7 separate regions of the Homo sapiens genome follow, and all the other regions are linked to region 3. The links are contacts of gene promoters, found by promoter capture Hi-C in blood cells and fetal thymus (Javierre and others, 2016). All regions are on one chromosome and are shown on one strand. Each heading gives the region's core, a stretch centred on a gene start or on the middle of the fragment in contact. The rest is flanking DNA. Distances are from core to core; before and after follow the strand shown.

Region 1 (2,790 bases), core at 288-2,787, 1.1 Mb after region 3:
CAGGTATTATATCAGGTATTATAAATAATCTAGAGATTATTTAAAGTATAGGGGAGAATGTGCATAGGTTACATGCAAATACTATACCATTTTATATAAGGGACTTGAGCATCTGCAGGTTTTGGTATCTGCAAGGGGTCCTGGAACCAATTCCCTATGGACACGGAAGGACCATATATATTATATCTACAGATAATCTTGATAAAATGCAGTACTTTTACTATTTTGTAAATTAAGAATTGTTTTTTATAAAAATTGTTTCATAACCTCTTTCTGTTTTTGGAGGTGAGACACAGGGAAATGAAAGGAAGAGAAAGATCCAAAGATTATTTCTATATCATGACAAAGCAAAAAAAAATGGACACCTGAAATTCTTCAACTGGTAATCATACATGTCACTTATCAAGACACTAGAAACAATAATGTGTGCCATATAGTGCAGAATCCAATACTCCTCTGTTACTACGGGTTAGTTAAAAATTAGTGAAGTGCTTGGTCCTGATTTCTACACTGTACCCCTGTAAGCCACCCTACGGAGAAGAATTATCCCAACTCTCAGAAAAAAAGTCGACCTCTCCCTTCTCTGCCCTTATAGAAAATAAGCCAGGCTGCCATGACAACCTCTGTTCCAAACAGCCTTCCACGGTGCCATCCTGCAGAAATCTAGGATTCAGTACAGCCGCTGTGCCAGATGCAGATAAAATGCAGACCTCTTCACTATAAAGGAAAAAACACAAACAAGTTAACATTTTTCAGACCGTATAACTTTGGGAAATGCTAAATATCAAAATAATTATAACAGTGACAATTTAAGTTCAAGTTAGACTCTACTCAATATTAAATAATATTTACGAGGTTTACCTCCTAAACCTAGCCTAGAAAACAGAAGTAACTTTATTTGAATGGAGGGAAAGAATTCTTCATAAATTAAAAACTGAAAAAAGATAAAAGTATTAATATTAAAGACAATAACTTCATTTAAAATATGGCAAGGCTGAAAGAATGAAATGTTTCAAAATATAAGCAGTAATAAATTGTATTGCTGAATCTAGCATTAATCAATGAAACTATATTAAAATACTCTTTAAATGTATATGAAGTTTTATTAAAATTATTCTAAAAGCACAACTATGTAAATATCTCTATATAGGTGATTTATATAGCTTAATCTAAATTTAAATCATTATAAAGGTTTCTGAAACAATATACAAAATATACTAAATGAAGCTTAAACTACATCATCATATAACAGAAAACTGATATTCAAAATAATTTTTAAATTATTATATGTCACCCAATTTGAAAGCTAAAAAATTAAACAATCAACATAATTATTGAATGAGATCACCTAAACAAATGAGAAAAGTAGCAACCTAGGGATGAACTGCTGAAAACCAGGTATAAATAAAACCCAGAAATAAAATAAAACAGAAGCCTAAGAGAACAAGGGAGGAACAGTCACTTGAACTGTAAATAAAATAAAGGAAGACCAGGCTTAAAGTGTAGGTAGGAATTAAGGATGTCAGAAGGAATAACATGAAACCACTGATGTCTTCGAATCAAGAAGTTATAAGAGCAGAAGTGCATTTCAGAGAGTTTAATCCAGTAACAGAAAGTAGCATGGGCTGGAACAGAAAAGATTAGTTAAAATTTAAATACACAGATGTTTTTGAGGTCTAGAAAGGACCTCTGTCAGATGACATCTGTCAGATGAACTCAAACTTCTAGGTAAATTAACTGAACTCATTTGCAGACTCCTCCATCTGTGACCTATCATCAGCCATCCTGAGTCTACATCCTGTGGCCTTCTTTTTTTTGCTACTCTTTTAAGTGTTGAATGCATCTTGTAAGCTTTGAAACCTCTCCTTATGCCTCTTCTTTTTATTTATATAATTCATATTCATCCCCCAAAATCCAACTCAAGCATCAGTTACTTCATTGACATTTTCTTCCAATTCTACTTTGAGCTTTCAGCCCTCTAGGATCCCAAAGCATCCTATATCTCAATCTTAAAATTTATTTTACATCATAATTATCCAGTAGAATGTAAATGTGATACCAAGAACTATGCCTTCTAAAACCATATCTCTGGCCGGGTGTGGTGGCTTACGCCTGTAATCCCAGCACTTTGGGAGGCCGAGGTGGACAGATCACGAGGTCAGGAGTTCGAGATCAGCCTGACCAACATGGCGAAACCCCATCTCTACTAAAAATATGAAAATTAGCCAGACAGGAAGGCAGGCACCTGTAATCCCAGCTACTAAGGAGGCTAAGGTGGGAGAATCACTTGAACCCGGGAGGTGGAGGTTGCAGTGAGCCAAAATCACACCATTGCACTCCAGCCTGAGTGAAAGAGTGAAACTCTATCTCAAAAAACAAAAAAAAAAACGACAACAACAAAAAACATTTTTCTAAGGCCTCAAAGTTTATGACATTAAAACCATCAATGTGGCAAGACAACTAGGGAGTAAGGCAAGATAAGCTTGACAAAGTTAGTAGTTAACAAGAGTAGAACCGCTACTATGGGAATAAACAGTCTAGGAGTATAACACATGATCTGCAAAGGAAAAGAAAAGCCCACAGAAGATTAAATAATATGGCTCTGTAATGACCACATTTACTACAGTTTAATTCTTTTTCCCTAACAATAAGGATCACCACAAGAGCAGAGGATCTAACAGTAAGAATTACCTAAGAATAGATGGTAGAAAAATAAGATAACAGAAGGTTAAACAGTTTCTAGATGATATCAACTGTAAACTTCTGAAGGGCTGAAAGTAGGGTTCAAGG
Region 2 (2,700 bases), core at 16-2,515, 1.0 Mb after region 3:
TATAGACAACAACAGTCTTACTTTCAAAAAGCAGAGGAACCATTTTTATGTTTTTATTTTTTATATGTAAAAATATAGTCTTTGTTGGAGAGTACGTGGAGAAAAGGGAACCTTGCACGCTGTTGATAAGAATATAAATTAGTACAGCCATTATGGAAAAGAGTCTGGAGGCTTCCCAAAAAATTGAAAATAGTACTACCATACGATCCAGCAATCCCACTACTCTGCATGTTTCCAAGGGATATGAAATCAGTATGTCAAAGAGGTATCTGCACTCTCATGTTCATTACAGCGTTTTTCACAATAGCCAAGTTATGAAATCAACCTAAGTGTCCACAAACAGATAAGTGGATAGAGAAAATATGGTATCTATACACAATGGGATGCTCTTCAGTCTTTAAAAAGAAGGAAATTCTGCCATTTTCAACAACATGAATGAACCTGGAAGACACAATGTTAAGTAAAATAAGCCAGGCAAGAATGACAAATACCACATGATCTTACATAGTATATGTGAAATCTAAAAAAGTTGAACTCATAGAAGTAGATAGTAAAATGGTGGTTGCCAGAGGTGAGGCCTTAGGAGATGTTGGTCAAAGGATACAAAACTTCAATTAAATAGGAGGAATAAGTTCAAGGAGTCTATTGTACAACATGGTGACTACAGTTAATAATGTATTGTGTTCTTGAAAATTGCTAAGAGAAGTAGATTCTCAGTGGTCCCACCACAAAAGAAAAAAGTGAGGTAATGCATATGCTAATTAGCTCAATCTAGTCATTCCACAATGTATATATAATTTAAAACAACTGTTGTACAAGATTAATATCTGCAATCTTTGGCTATTAAAAAAAGTCAAAAAATTATATATAATTATATATCTACTTTATATAAATTCAGATATCAATATAGGTATATTAATATATAATTTATATATAAATATATCTAATTATATAGAAATATGTTATATATATTAAATGTTATATATATTAAATATATATTATATATTATATATATAATATATATAATATATATTAATAATTAATCTATTAACTATTTATATTATATATAAATAATATATTGATTTATATTATAAATATATTTATATTTAATTATATATATATATGTAGAGAGAGAGAGAGATTGAGAGTCTTTATAGTGCCTTGACTTTTCTATTAGAAAGAAGCCAAGCTTCCTAGGATACTATTTATCCAACCATTCCTAACATTTTCTTCAGCGTGGTTCCTTATTCAGCCTGGGGTCAAATAAGTGGTTTCAATAAACCTCCTGAAGTAGTATGCAAAAGTTCATGTATATGCTTATTTTGGGGGACAAAAAGGTCCAAAGCTTAGATCGGATTACCAAAAGTACTCTGAAAATGACCCTCCTCTGAGGGAAAAAGAAAAAAAAGGTTTGTAAATAAATGTGTTGCTTCCACACAACACACATTTTTATGCTTCCACGTCTTTATGCACTGGTGCCATGAGATTAGGTGGCGTATTGGGAAGAGGATAGGTTTTGATCTCCCAGACTTCCGATTCAAGCTAAACCGGCTAAGTAGTAACAACATTTATGGAAATAAGAAATAGTAAATTTTTACTGATGGAGACATACTAACAAAAGAGCAATTCAAGATGTATGAAAATTGATGAAGCTTAAGGACAGCCCCCCCACACCAAAAAAAAAATCAAAGAGAGAATAGAGGTCAATTTAACTAAGAAGCTAAAAAAAAGGAAAGATGGTCACACTGTCCATAACAAAAAGTATAGATATTGTGAAAAGTTACTGTAAAGATAGACAACAAAATAGGGGGGAAATTGTCACACACAGCAGATTAAATATTAACAAGAAAAAGTCAACCCCATAGGACAGAAATTTTCATTTTCACAAAAAAAGTGCAAACTCAAATGCAAAATAGCTCTATTATTCCTACTGGCCAAAAATGTTGTCCATGCATAGACGCATCTCAAAAAGCATTATGCCAAATGAAAGTTGCTGAGCACAAGATCCCACTGACATGGAAGGGGGAGTAGACTGACTGCAGAGGGACACCAGGGAACTTTATTGGTGATGGAAACGTTCCATATCTTGGCTACATGATGGAATATATTTGCCAACCTCAAACTATACACTTAAAATAGATGAATTTTGTTGAATTTAAATTATATCTAACAGATTTTTCAAAATATGTAAGGACACACACTAGGTTATTAACATGGATTGGAAGGGATGTGATAGGGAAGAAGAGCAAACCAGGCAAAAGGGTAAAAAAGAAAACTACTCTAAACATTGTTTATATAATCCCATTTATGCACTTATGAAAAAGCTGTATGCATTAAAAAAAAACTCACCAAATAATACTGCAAGACTGCAATCCAATACTTATATCTTTGGCATGTTCAAATTCAAGGGCAGAACAGGTGATAAAAGCCAGATGACAATGCATCATGGGAGAGAAGGAGGTGGAGGAAGTGCGACAGTGAGTTCGTTTAAATTGAGTCGTTGCCCCTAGAAGCAGTGATGAAAGATGAAGGGCATGTTAAGCCTGCTGTAAATGCTGTAAACTGGCCTATTTCCAAGAGTAAGTCCCAGCATGTCCATTCCAGATGCTCATGTTTCAGGGGTAATGTACGCATAGTGAAAGAGCAGCAGCTCTTGGGGTGTAGGTTAACATTAGCCTTTCTGGAAGGAACCAATCTTGG
Region 3 (2,700 bases), core at 153-2,652:
AAAGTGCTATAAGAACACACGGAGAGGACACCTAGCTGTCTTGAGGATGTTAGATAAAGTATCTTAAAGGGGAAGCAATGGCTTGATGAAACCAAAGGTTGATGAGTTAGCCAGGGAAAAGTAGTTGGGAAAAAGATATGTGCAAATGCTCAGAAAGAAAATGGCATATCCTGGGATCTGGAAGTGTAGTGTGGCCTGAATGGAACACAGTGTGAGTGAGATAATGTGAAAATAAGCTGAAGCAAGATGAGATCTAAATGGGCTTAAGGAATGTATTTCCTCCTCCTAGAAATGAATGCTTTGTTTGGTTGCTATACTAGTAACAGGAATTAGACACGTTTATTAAACCGCTTACCATTTAACTTGGTAAATCAAAGAACAATGATTTTTACAGGTATCAGTAAATGCCTGTAATTAGATACGTGGTAGGCTTTCCTGTTAATATATAATGGTTATTCTCAGTGTTTAAAGAATTAAAGGGACTCGGGTAATTACCAGTTTTAGAGTGAACCATTTGAGAGATAATACCTTACCATTACAAAACAACTCCTAGGGAAAGTTATATGAGACAGCAAAGGTAATAGTAAATAGTAAAATAATATGAATAGTGAATAATATAGTAAAAACAGTTAAAAATGATTTAGCAATTTCTTAAAAACAATTGACCACGAAAAAAATTCACAGTAAAACCGAGACTGGGAATATTTCATTCAACCCTCACACATGCTGCTATTGACTGGAAATTTAAGAAATGTTCATTTGTTTTGACAAAATGGAAAGCAACTGTACATTCTTCCTGGAAACTTTAGCTGAGGTCAAAGTTGTAAATGAAAAGGATGATTTTTTAGAGAACAATTCAGTAGTATTGTTTTGCCTTGTCATGAAGAATTTTTGTGCTTCCACAAACAAAAATCTTGGATTGTTAGGTGAACGGTGGCAATCAAGTGGTTTTCAGAAGACTCAAGTTTCTTCATCTACAAAAATGACAGGAGTGGGGTCAGGATGTTCCCGAAGGCTCCTTCTACTCATAAGAGCATAAAATCTGTGCCTCTAATTTCTCGCAGAAACAAATAATGAGAACTTCACACCAATTCATTTATTATATGAATGTTTTGTCCCGTGAGAACACTGGTCTATCTTTAGATATGTAATTTATCAAACTTCTTTGGGCAACCCATCTTCTTTACTTTTTTATTTTTAATTTTTTGGTTTTCTCTTTGTCAAATTTTCATGGAATAACTACATTCAGGTGTAGTAATAGTAACGCAAAGCTCTGAACACCACGAGACAATTCGTTGCTTCCGAAACGCAGCCGGCAGCAGGTACTCGAGATGAGTAGTGTGAGCTCCCGAGCACCCGTAGGTCGGATTATCTGGTAAGGCACCGGAAGTGACCGCCTCGCGGCTGCTTCCTCTCCTGGAGTCCAGAGTCCCGTTGCTCCGCCGCGATATTCAGTAAACCACTGGGAGTCCGGCAGCATGGAGGCAGCGCGCCCTCCCCCGACGGCAGGGAAGTTCGTGGTGGTCGGCGGCGGCATCGCGGGCGTCACTTGTGCGGAGCAGGTAGGGCGGTGCTCAGGCGGTTCCGCCTCTTTCCCCGACCCCAAAGGGGATAGCACTGGAGGCCTTCCTCCCACCCCCTCCCTTTTTCTTCTTCCGGGTTCCTTTTTTGCTGCGCCCTTTTCCGCACTTATTGCTCCCAGATTTTAGAAACTGCTTGGTGGTCCTCAGATGACCTCACTAGCTTTCTCTTAGGCGCAGGGAGGAGTGGGAGGCAAATTATAGCCGAGAAACCAAAGCTGGCTGATCCGTGCTCAGATCCTTGTAATGTCAGAGCAGACATGAGGACTTTGTATTTAGACAAAAAATTCAGCCCCCTTTCTTTTTATTTTTTTTTCTTTTTCTTTGAGACGGAGTCTCACTCTGTCGCCCAGACTGGAGGGCAGTGGTGCGATCTTGGCTTAATGCAAGCTTTGCCTCCCGGGTTCAAGCGATTCTTCTGTTGCGTCAGCCTGTAGCTGGGATTACAGGCGCCAGCCACCACGCCCCGCTAATGTTTGTATTTTTAGTAGAGACGGGCTTTCACCATGTTGGCCAGGCTGGTCTCGAACTCCTGGGCTCAAGCAGTCTGCCCGCTTCCGCCTACCGAAGTGCTGGCATTACAGGCCTGAGCCACAGCACCCGGCCCTCAGCCCCCTTTGTTAATTATCGTAGGTGATTGAGTTTAGTTTCCAGATAGTTGCCAAGTCTTTAGTGCATCTTAACTAATTAATAAAGAATCCCATATGTAAGTTTTCTATACTTCGAACTCCCAAGATAGAAGAAACTTTATTTCTAGTAAAGTTTTGTAAAATAATCAGCGAAGGATTAAATGCATGTAGGGCTTGCTTTCTTGATTATACTGAATAGCCAGACCATATATATTCAGATACATGTGTGTATTCCAAAAAGTTCTACATTATTTTGTTGATATAAAGTAAACATGAGCAATCACTGAAGTCATAAGAAATAGTGGAAGAAACTCAAGTGTTTCCATCGTTGGATGCGTATTTTCCGTTTATTCACTAAGTAAACATATATGATGCAGGCACCGTATTAAGGGCTGAGTGTTCAACTATGAACAGCATGGTATATACCATGCTGGGGACTCACAGCCTGCTGGAAGAGACAATATTACAATATTGTATGTCTATGCAAGAGA
Region 4 (2,700 bases), core at 158-2,657, 1.1 Mb after region 3:
CAGGGACTCACTCTGTGTCCCACACTGGAGTGCAGTGACATGATCATAGCTCACTACAGCCTCAATCTTCTGGGCCAAGCGATCCTCCCACCTCAGCCCCCCAAGTTCCTGGGACTACAAGCACATACCACCATGCACCGCTAGTTTTTTAAATTTTTTGAAGAGATGGAGTCTCCCTGTATTGCCCAGGCTGGTCTCAATCCTGGTTTAAGCCATCCTCCTGCCTTGACCTCACAAAGTGGTGGGATTACAGGCATGAGCCATCTTGCCCGGCATGATCAGTGTTTTTTGTTGTTTTGGGTGGTAGAGTTGAAGTCGTTTTTGTGGTGAAATCGAAGTATTACCGTATTACCAACTCATTTTTTAAAATATGAAATGTATAAAGAAAAAATATTAGAAAATTGAAGTTTAGCACCAATATTAATGGAAAATAATGCATTGTGTTCCAAAATGTAAAAAGTTGCAAATTGCACAATTAGAGGTTAGCAATCTCAGCCTCCTAATTAGTAGACTTTGAGGTACTTGTACGTACTTGTTGCCTTAGGCTTCATCAACAAGAGATTATAATTAAGATGCTTCCTGAAAACTATTTTTAGTAGATTTAAGCCTGACTTCAGTTGAACTGTTTCCTAATAATTGTTCTCGTTTGTTTTCATTAATGCTGGGAACAGTGCTAACTTTCTGACAAATCTACCATGATGTGACTCCTGATTACCTTGTTTAGCTTCATACCCTGACACTCTTTTTGCATTTTAAATTATCAATAACAAGAATTAACGTGTATTGATGGTTTGCCGCACACCAGCTACTGAATTCAGCGTTTCACAGCTGTTAAGGCTCCCTAAAATCCTGAGGTAGGAATTATCAGCCTTCATTTTATAAATGAGAAAATTATGGCTTTTCAAAGCTCTGGTGATTACCCAAGGTCACAAAGCTTCTAATGATAGAGGCAGGTTTTAAATCTAGACAATGTGATTCCAAGAACTCACGTCTTTGAAGATTACATGTAGTTTTCTAATAAACTATACTTTTCCTTCTTCCTGGAGTATCTCTCTCATAGTCATCCTACCAAATAGCTATGAATTCATAACTCAGTTCAAAAGTCAATACTCTGGTTTCTCTTTAGAGTGTATAAATCTTTTGCCTTTTACAAAAGTCACTTCTACATCTTCTCTAATCTCCTTCCTAATAAATATGCTCTTCACTCCCACCTATGCTACTACTAAATCTAATACATTTGTTATTATACTTTCCATGCAATAATTATTTATCCATCTCTCTCCCCCCCAACCCCCACTAAACCATGAGCACTCTGAGGGAATGGATTGCTTCTCACTCATCTCTCAATTCTCAGTTCTTTGTCCTGTGCCCTTCATGTGATCAACAAATTATTGTGGAATTAAATTAACAGTTAACACTTGCTATTACTACTTAGATTGCTCTTCTTTCCTGGCTTCCTAAAATGTTCCTGTTAATCTTTCCCATTCTTTCAGGTTAAATTACTCAAGGGTTGTCAGTACTTGGTGCCCTCTCCTCACTTCCTAAGCGCTCCAAAAACTATTAATATCTGGGTTTAGCCACCACCACTCTACAAAAACAGCTTTCACTAATGCCATCAATAACCTCTGGTTGCTAAATGCAATGAACACTTTTTTTAGTTTTAAGTTTTTATTTTTGAGATGGGGTCTTGCTGTGTTGCCCAGACTGGTCTCAAACCCTTGGGTTCATGCAGTCCTTCTGCCTCAGGCTCCCAAGTTGCTGAGACTACAGGCACGTGCCACCATGCCTGGCTTCAGTTTTTTATTTACGTGACTCTCAGTAGCATTTGATGCTGTTGACCACGCTGTCCTTAAAATAATCTTCCTCTTGGTATTCAGAAACCAAGCTTCTCTTACCTATTCTGGTTTATACATCTGTCTTCTCAGCCTACTCATTGTCCTTAACTATTAAATATGTGTTTTTCTCAGGTTCAGTTTTTGTCTCTATTCTCTTCCAACTGTACTGTCTCCCTAGGTGATCTCATCCAAGCTCACAATTTTAATTTCCATCTGTTTAGTCAGGGACTCTCAAATCGTTATCTTTAGTCTGTAACTCGCTTCTGGGATCTTGACCCATATATGCAACTGCCAAGTTACTATTTCCATTTGGAGTATCAAAGTGACCTCAAAAGTCAAGATGTCCAAAAGTGACCTCAAAAGTCAAGATGTCCAAAACTGACCTGATTTTCTTTACCTTTCCCATAACTACAACAACGAGAATGACAACAACAACAACAAAAGACCTGGTAGTCTTCTACTAAACAGCAATGCCAACTACATAGTCAATTGCTCAAGCCAGAAACTCACTGATTTAAGTTTGAAAGTGGGCTGGGATTACAAGTATAATTATACAAATGACAACTTGGGCTCAGTTCAGTTACTTTTGCTTTGATTTTTTTTTTTCCTTTGGGCCAGGGTCCCACTCTGTTACCCAGGCTACAGTGCGGTGGCAAGATCACAGTTCACCACAGCCTCAACCTCCCAGGCTCAGGTGATCCTCCAACCTTAGCCTCCTGAATAGCTGGGACTGCAGGCGCACACCACCACATCTGGCTAATTTTTATATTTTAGTAGAGATGAGGTCTCCCCATGTTGCCCAGGCTGATCTCGAACTCTTGGGCTCAAGTGATCTGCCTGCCTCATCCTCCCAAAGTGCTAGGAT
Region 5 (2,700 bases), core at 19-2,518, 1.1 Mb after region 3:
ATATTATACACAACTGTATACATAACAACTATATATACAACTGTGTATATATATACAGTATATATATAACTGTATATATACAACTATGTGTATATGTATACATACAACTGTGTATATATATATACACAACTGTGTGTGTATATATATTTAAAACTGAATATATATATATAACTGAATGCAATTAACAACTGATAAACAGGGTTAAAAAAAGTACTACATAATCAATGTTAACTATAAACACAAAGTTTTAAGTACATTTTTCACAGCATATATATTATTCGGGAAGACTAGTCAAAACAGTAACTTACTAAATTTTTTTTTTTTTTTAAGACGGAGTCTCACTCTGTCACCCAGGCTGGAGTGCAATGGCGTGATCTCGACTCACTGCAACCTCTGCCTCCCAGGTTCAAGCGATTCTTGGGCCTCGGCCTCCCACATAGCTGGGATTACAGGTTCACACCACCACACCCGGCTAATTTTTGTATTTTAGTAGAGACGGGGTTTCACTCTGTTGCCCAGGCTGGTCTTGAACCCTGGATCTCAGGTGATTCGCCTGCCTCGGCTTCCCAAAGTCCCAAGATTATAGCTGTGAGCCACTGCACCCAGCCACTAACTTAAGAAATTTTAAGGGAACTGCCTGGTAAATCCCTTATTTCAGAAAATAAATATATTATTTTTCATATTGTTAAGTAAGCTGCTTGAGTACTCACTAGCTTTAAAAAATACCAGTTTATTACCATCATCATTAAAATGAAATATCATTTTTTAATATTTCCTAGTATCATGAAAATTACTCTGACACATGAAGCTTGCCTCCTCCCACCATTCCAATAACAATGTAATGAAAACTATTCGTTTTTAACCATTTCTAGGTTATAGTTGGGGGGGAAAGGCTATCAAAATAAACTATATAAACATCCCAGTGTTTTGCCTGGGTAATGAAGATAGACTCTAATTCTAAATCCATCTGAAATCATGTAAGGAAGTTACTCTGATTATTTTTTGACACATATATTCCACACCTTTACCTTAATAATGTAGTTTAAAATGCCACAATAGACTCAATACATGTGCAACGGGTCTTTCAAAATAGATAGTGGCATTTTAGAAGCAGCTAAAAGAAAAATTTGTACATATACACAAAAGAAAATGAGAAGAGAATCAAAATATTTCACCATGAAAATATCAACTAAAAATATGAATTTGTAGGACTCTCACTTCCTGATTGCAAAACTCACTACAAAGCTATAGTAATCAAAACAGTATGGTAATAGTATAAAGACAGACATACAGACCAATGGAATGGAGTTGAGAGTGCGGAAATAAATCCTTACATCTATGTCCAACTGATTTTTTTTAACTTGCCTCAAAGGTAAAGTCCTAAACAATTTACTGACTTCCAGTTCAATGTTCTAGCAGATAACATGGAAGTCCATTTTAAAAGAGGAGGAGTTTACAGAAACTAGAAATTACCTTCCTTAGAGAGATCCATTTGCTTGAAAACCTTTGGGTAAAAGCTACTGGGAGGTTAAGAATAACTGTTTCTATAACTGAGTCCTTTTGACAGAAGACTGAGACACAGCCAAGCTACTCTGATGAGGTCGTAATTTTGAGAAACACAGTTATATTCCACAGAGATAATAAATAAAAGCTGTCACTGTCCATAAATGCTGAGTCTACAGACGAGGTACACCTTTCTTATACAAACTGAGATTTAATTTTAGCAACAAAAGCTTTTCAAACTGCAGTTCTATTTTTTTAGCACACCTACACCACTCAGACTAATTAAACTATACATTAACGAAAGAACAGAAGATATACCCCAAAATGCTAATATTTAAACCCACTTTCTGCCAAACGCTGAATGTCTATCCAAAATGCTGAGTGATTTAAAAATATTATTCCCAGGCCGGGCATTACGCCTGTAATCCCAGCACTTTGGGAGGCCAAGGTGGGTGGATCACCTGAGGTCGCGAGTTTGAGAACAGCTTGACCAACATGGAGAAACCCTGTCTCTACTAAAAATACAAAATTAGCCAGGTGTGGTGGCGCATGACTGTACTCCCAGCTACTCAAGAGGCTGAGGCAGGAGAATCGCTTGAACCTGAGAGGCAGAGGTTGCAGTGAGCCAAGATCCCACCATTGCCCTCCAGCCTGGGCAACGGGAGTGAAACTCCGTCTCAAAAAAAAAAAAAAGTTTACATATATTATTCTCTTTTTTTTGACTAGTGCAACTCATATTAACATACAGCAACATGCTTCATAGCCACCTCAATACTACTCTGGAAAGAATTCATGTTTGAAAAAAAACAGAGGCTCCAAATGGTAAGGCTGTCTGAGGTCATCTGCAAATTAGCAGGCACCAGAAATAGAATTTGTTTTCTCTTAATCCAGACCTTTAAGCTTTTCCAATAGAGGGCAGCTATGCAGTATCCCAACCACTACAGAATGTGCCTTCCAACACTAAAAGAAAGATCACGGTCCTAATATAAACCATAAGCAAAGCAGCGCCTAAAAATCGTAGTGTCATTTCTTCCATCTTCAGGTATCAGTTTGGCAGGTTCCCCAGCATGATCAAAGCATCTTTCAAGCAAATCAATACTTTCCTTCCCTTGTTCTCTTTCACTGAAGAATGACACCTTACCCTGCAAGAGCTAAACTTTACCCAGGCTCCATAATGGTTATGAAATAGGCCTCAGA
Region 6 (2,738 bases), core at 192-2,691, 1.0 Mb after region 3:
TCACTGTAGCCTTAACCTCCTGGGATCAAGCAATCCTCCCACCTCAGCCTCCCACGGAGCTAGGATCACAGGTGCACACCACCACATGCAGCTCATTATTTATTTTTTGTAGAGCTGGGGTCTCACTGTGTTGCCCAGGCTGGTCTTAAGCTCCTGGATTCAAGCGATCTTCTCGCCTCAGCCTCTCAAAGTGCTGGGATTACAGGTATGAGCCAACAGGCCCGGCCCAAAGAAGACTCTTGACAGTTCTGCTTTCTGCCTGGAAGCTGTATTTAATTCATAAATCTGAACTCACATTACCTTTGAATTTGATTTTTCCTCTCTATTCTTTCAAGGACATTGAGATATGCTACAATTCTCTATGGAGTTCTAAATCAGAATTTTGGGTGATCACAAAAAGGAAAAAGGACCACAGTTACTACGTTACAAAGTTCAGAATCTGGAAGCAGCTTATTTTTCGTCTTTGAAATATGAGACAAGATCTATTTATCTATATAAACAGACTTTGTACTGATTTAATAAAGATTCTATTGACATATATGTAAAGTGAATATAAAACTATTCTGTATTATACATAATTTGGTATCAAATAACAAGTAGGAATCATAAAATAATATCCATTGTATTATAAGACATAAAAGTTGAATAGCTCATTTCAAATAACTATCATTTCTCAAAATAAATTTAGTGAAAAACACATACTACATTTATCTAATACATAATGCTACAAAATAAGGCATAGTAATTTTAAATTTTTTTGTAATAAAAATCATACTAAAATCAGATGAGAAATGGAAAACAATACCTCCCACTTTTCCCCAAAGATTATGCAGATCAAAATAGATTTATTGCTATTAAATTAAGGAGCTATCAATTTGCACTGGAAAAAAAACATGGCAGTGTCTTATATAAGTACATAACAATGTTCTTCAATTATTGCCACAGCAAAGACAGGAAGCTCATCGCTTTCTCACTTGTACTACTCCCACTCAAAACCTCTTCATGTATCTTCTGGAAAAAAAAAAGCATTCTGTTGTGCATGAAAATCCAAAACTTTTTGTGAAGGTTTAATTGTTGCTGGAAAAAACTTACCAAATATAATATAAAATATCAAGTATTCTATGTGTGAATAGTTACAGTGGGAAATCCAAACCTTTGAAAATAAAGCTTTAATACATTAAGGTATGAGAATAGAATATCATAGGAAAAATTACCTTAATAACTTAGAATGAAATTACTTCAGAAATTAAAATAAAAGGAACATTAATTTCTCCCCTTTATGAATATGAAGAAACATATAATGAGGGAATGAAGGATAAATTTTCACCTCAAGGTTAGTAAGATTTCCTATAATGAAGAAGCAGTGAAAGGAACTAGAAACCAGGATTTGTGTTTGCTTTTTCCCTCACTTAACCAACCTTTAGCTGGTGGAAAAGGATGAGAAGGAAGTGAATCTGAACACAGTTCCAGTGGAAATTGTAAAAGTTCTTCATTATCTGTTGAGGCTAGAAAGGCAAGAAAATATCAGTTATTTAGTAATGATCTATTATTAATTTTTTAAAATTAAGAATCTGTGACAACATACATATACATATTCTCAGCTCCATCTCCCCACCCCAATTTATTCTGGTCATTTTCTCCTTGATTTCTCCCATGGAAACCATTCATCTGCATGATGCTGAGACTGGTGCTATCTTCCCTGGTATGACTCTTGTGAAGCTTTAAGAGATTAATATCTGTAACTCACTTAGCACAGTGCTTTGCAAATAATAAATGCTAGACAATAATTAATATCCTATACTTTGTCCATTACTAGCTTTTGTGATACTTAAACCGGTTACATGTCTTCTTTGATAAATATCTGAACACATAATCATTTAATACATCTACCTGACATTAACTCACTGCTCAAATCTTATCAATGCTATACATGTAGAATGTAATCAACTTTTAAAAGTTTAGGACTAATCAGGAATATTTCATTTAGCCAGTAAATCATTCAAACTATACAAGAAAGTATAGTATCCCCCATTATGTGTTTTTCAGAACACACAGTTTCCAATAATTTGGATTTCTTCAGAATATATATTAAGACTACTTCCTAAATTTTACTGGATTAAGGCCACCTTTGTGAATCTGTTGAACACTATGGAACTTGTCCTGAAAATAATACACAGGCACACAATTGTGCTTACTACATCAGTAGGTCCTCAGATGCCTTGAAGACCTTGCCAGAGATCTTAGTATAGAAACCCTTATATTACTGCAGAATTAATAGGCTATAATTTAAGTCTAAAAAACCAGCAGCATTCTCTATGTAAACATCAGTCAAATACCACCCAGTCGCGTGTGAAAAATATCAAGTCAGCCATACGCTTATCCACACAGTTATCTTCATAAAGATGAACAGAAAAAGCAGCAAATATTCTTCAAGAAATAAGTAATTTATTGAATCCACCTGTCCTGTATATTTTATCACTGAACCATAACACAGACAAACACAAACTGAACTTCCTATTCAGTAAAGATTTACCTCTTTGCAATGACTTTTCAACAGGGGTTTTTGTGGTTTGTAAAGCCTGATTTTTGTCAAAAGTGATTGCGACTGCCGTGACTGTAACCTAGAATTATAAAAACAATAATGGTTAGCAAAATAATCACTGCCAAAACTAAGTTTCTTACATATTTTTTTCAGTACCACGGAACAACCTACACCAAATACCTTTTCTGGTTAAAAT
Region 7 (2,706 bases), core at 12-2,511, 1.2 Mb after region 3:
TGTTAATATGTATCATATAGTTAATGAAACTGAATTTGCCGTTTACAAATGGCAGATCTGAGATGATAAACCATCTTATGAATTATTGTTCTATGACCAAGAGTTTTGTTTGTATATTATGATTTAGGCAGGGAAGGTGCTTCTGTATAAAATTAATTTCTTAAAAGCTTTGGCTCATAAAAAGATTCTGCTTTAAAGTTCCCTTGAACATAAATTTGCATTACTTTTTTCATATGTGACACCATTTTAGGAAAAAGGGATTACTTAAGCTTTCCTTCACGAGTTACTTTTGTTGTGTAACAACTGTTTAACTTATTTGAAGATTTTGATTTTTAATTTTTATACTTTTCTTTGGAGAGTCATCGTATAAAGGAATAAAGAATCAAGTCAGATCTCAGGTCCATAATAATTCTCAACGGACTCTTAAAATTGTTTTTCATTTTCTGAAGAGCTGATGAATTAGTGTTTGGAATATTCCAGTTATGTTGTCTCAGGGTCTTTCTGTTTGCAGTATTAAGCAACGTTGTTTTTCTCACTAACTTGTCACTATGAATTTTTCCATTACTTGGGACTTATAGTAGATAATGGCAAAGGCTTCATAGGTAGGAATTAATACCGTAATTATTATTTAACATTACAAAACTAATATATTTATTCCTTTGTTGGGTCTAAATGAGATTGCTTGCTATATGGTACCTTATAGCAACTTAGCTTTTCAATAACAGTGTGTTACAGTGCTCAAGAGCATGGGGTTTGAACACAGTGCTAGTTTTGAGTCCAGATTCTATACTTTACTAGCTTTGTTACTCTGGTCAAATCATTAAACTTCCTGTCTCAGTATCCTGAGCTGTAAAATTGATCCAGTAGTTGTCCCTACCTCAATGGGTTATTGTGAGGGTAAAATAAATGCTGTCTTTCATGATAATTATTATTGCTGCTGAGCACCTACTATATATTGGATACTTGAATCAAAAAACAAATATTTGCTCTTTGAAATTCCTAGTCCGATGGGGAAGACAAATAAGAAAATTATAACAACGTAATGTTTATGGAATGAACATTCAAATTTAGTTCACATGCAAAGATTACCCAAGAAGTTTAAAAAATGTACTGTTCTTTCTGCTTTACTACAGGTTTTTGCCTGTTATTGAATGCATATTTTAAAAAATCTTTTCATCATTTTTTTAAGCATATGTATTCTATCATGGAAATTAATCTTTGTGTTAGGTTGTGTAGCTACACAGCAGTTTTCATATCCTTCCTCTTTCTAACAGTGTTGGAGGTAGTTACCTAAATAATCTATTAAAAACCTGTAACTCCTCTTAATATTGATAGTTGATATTTTATATTGGTCTTTGCCTTAAAGGAAGAAGAAAAAGCCAGATCTATACAATTGCTGTGTTAAGTTATGTCTCCACTAGTGTTCTGATATAATAATTGATTTTCTTTTCTGTTTTTAAAAAGATGAGTTTGTTCCTTTAAGCAGTAGCTTCTGAAAAGTCTTAGGTAAGCTAATGTAGTAAGTTACGGCTAATTTTTTAATATATTAAAAAAGTAAACAATATATTAGTTTACTTTCCCTAAGATTATAGGAAATCTTGAGTCCTGTAGATACAAATAAGGAGTCATGGTTTATATTCAGTGTAACTTTTAATGTTAGTGATTACATCCAGTTTTCTGTTTCCTATTCCCTCCCTGTCTTCAGCATTTTAGAATAATAAAGTATATAATGTTTAATAGACGCCCATCAAAAACATGAAATATTTGTTAGGCTCCCATGTATTTTATTAAGATGTGACTATGAAGACAGGAGCCTAAAGTGCTAGTTTGTTTTCCTGTATAATAGCCATGTAACTTGGACTACACAAACTGCGTCACATCTTTTTGGGGACTGAGCATAATGTGGAAAGAGGATGGTTTTTGAATATTATTTCCAGCCATTTATAACCTTTGGCAAGTTTTAAAGTCTCTATAAAATGGTATTACCTTGGAAAGTAGTCATGAGAATTCAATGAAATACCTACAATTACGCATCGCATGTTTTGGTACTACGTTCTTCCACCTCTCATTTCCAATTCTCCCATCCCAACTGAGAGAATTGTGAGCTCCTAAAATTCAGTAATTCTGACATGTGTTTTTTGTACTAGCTGTAATGCTAGTTTTCAGTAAGAGTCCTTGTACAACTAACTGTAGCACAAGGTAGGCATAGAAGAACGTAGGACAGAAGGCTTCATAGAGGTGGGGGTACCTGAGCTAAGCTTTGAAGGGTAGATGAGATCAGATTGAAAAGGGAAACATTTCTGAGCAAGGAAAACTATCTCACAAAGGCAATGAAGCTAGACTTTGAGTAGCTTACTCATCATTTAGGACATCATGGGAAGCCACTGGATATTTTTCTTTTTGTATTTTATTTTATTTTATTTTATTTTTTTTGAGACAGAGTCTCGCTGTAGCCCAGGCTGGAGTGCAGTGGTGTGATCTCAGCTCACTGCAACCTCCGTTTCCCAGGTTCAAGTGATTCTCGTGCCTCAGCCACCCAAGTAGCTTGGATTACAGATGTGCGCCACCATGCTCAGCTAATTTTTGTATTTTTAGTAGAGTCGGGGTTTCACCATGTTGGCCAGGCTGGTCTCGAATGCCTGACCTCAAGTGATCCACCCACCTCGGCCTCCCAAAATACTGGGATTACAGGCATGAGCCACCGCA

What was found. Contacts are between HindIII fragments. The CHiCAGO score rates a contact against its expected background, and 5 or more counts as called.
Region 1: a contact is called between a fragment that was not itself captured here and the fragment with the promoter of PYROXD1 in region 3, in 1 of 17 cell types (total B cells). The highest score is 5.4, in total B cells.
Region 2: a fragment that was not itself captured here is called in contact with the fragment with the promoter of PYROXD1 in region 3 in 1 of 17 cell types (total B cells); the score reaches 6.3 in total B cells.
Region 4: a fragment that was not itself captured here is called in contact with the fragment with the promoter of PYROXD1 in region 3 in 6 of 17 cell types (total B cells, naive CD8 T cells, non-activated CD4 T cells and 3 more); the score reaches 7.4 in total B cells.
Region 5: a fragment that was not itself captured here is called in contact with the fragment with the promoter of PYROXD1 in region 3 in 3 of 17 cell types (naive CD4 T cells, non-activated CD4 T cells and total B cells); the score reaches 5.8 in naive CD4 T cells.
Region 6: a contact is called between a fragment that was not itself captured here and the fragment with the promoter of PYROXD1 in region 3, in 2 of 17 cell types (total CD8 T cells and naive CD4 T cells). The highest score is 6.6, in total CD8 T cells.
Region 7: a fragment that was not itself captured here is called in contact with the fragment with the promoter of PYROXD1 in region 3 in 9 of 17 cell types (non-activated CD4 T cells, total CD8 T cells, total B cells and 6 more); the score reaches 11.7 in non-activated CD4 T cells.

What each region holds. Positions count from the first base shown.
Region 1 is chr12:22,489,502-22,492,291 of GRCh38, forward strand. C2CD5 (C2 calcium dependent domain containing 5) reads right to left here. Exons shown (of 27, transcript NM_001286176.2): 12 at 622-717. Among named protein-coding and RNA genes, the nearest start is that of C2CD5, 54 kb to the right of the region's middle. The HindIII fragment of the contact is 624 bases long and covers 1,226-1,849 here.
Region 2 is chr12:22,444,859-22,447,558 of GRCh38, forward strand. No RefSeq gene overlaps it. Among named protein-coding and RNA genes, the nearest start is that of C2CD5, 98 kb to the right of the region's middle. The HindIII fragment of the contact is 156 bases long and covers 1,188-1,343 here.
Region 3 is chr12:21,436,253-21,438,952 of GRCh38, forward strand. It overlaps PYROXD1 (pyridine nucleotide-disulphide oxidoreductase domain 1), which reads left to right and starts at 1,403. Exons shown (of 12, transcript NM_024854.5): 1 at 1,403-1,562. The coding sequence starts at 1,479. RefSeq lists enhancers at 1,232-1,311, 1,362-1,551. The HindIII fragment of the contact is 2,746 bases long and covers 1-1,968 here.
Region 4 is chr12:22,546,449-22,549,148 of GRCh38, forward strand. No RefSeq gene overlaps it. Among named protein-coding and RNA genes, the nearest start is that of C2CD5, 3.3 kb to the left of the region's middle. The HindIII fragment of the contact is 951 bases long and covers 933-1,883 here.
Region 5 is chr12:22,530,149-22,532,848 of GRCh38, forward strand. The region is part of intron 3 of C2CD5 (C2 calcium dependent domain containing 5); the gene reads right to left. Among named protein-coding and RNA genes, the nearest start is that of C2CD5, 13 kb to the right of the region's middle. The HindIII fragment of the contact is 925 bases long and covers 807-1,731 here.
Region 6 is chr12:22,468,291-22,471,028 of GRCh38, forward strand. C2CD5 (C2 calcium dependent domain containing 5) reads right to left here. Exons shown (of 27, transcript NM_001286176.2): 21 at 2,534-2,621; 22 at 1,419-1,505. Among named protein-coding and RNA genes, the nearest start is that of C2CD5, 75 kb to the right of the region's middle. The HindIII fragment of the contact is 552 bases long and covers 1,166-1,717 here.
Region 7 is chr12:22,628,198-22,630,903 of GRCh38, forward strand. The region is part of intron 1 of ETNK1 (ethanolamine kinase 1); the gene reads left to right. Among named protein-coding and RNA genes, the nearest start is that of ETNK1, 4.4 kb to the left of the region's middle. The HindIII fragment of the contact is 1,989 bases long and covers 268-2,256 here.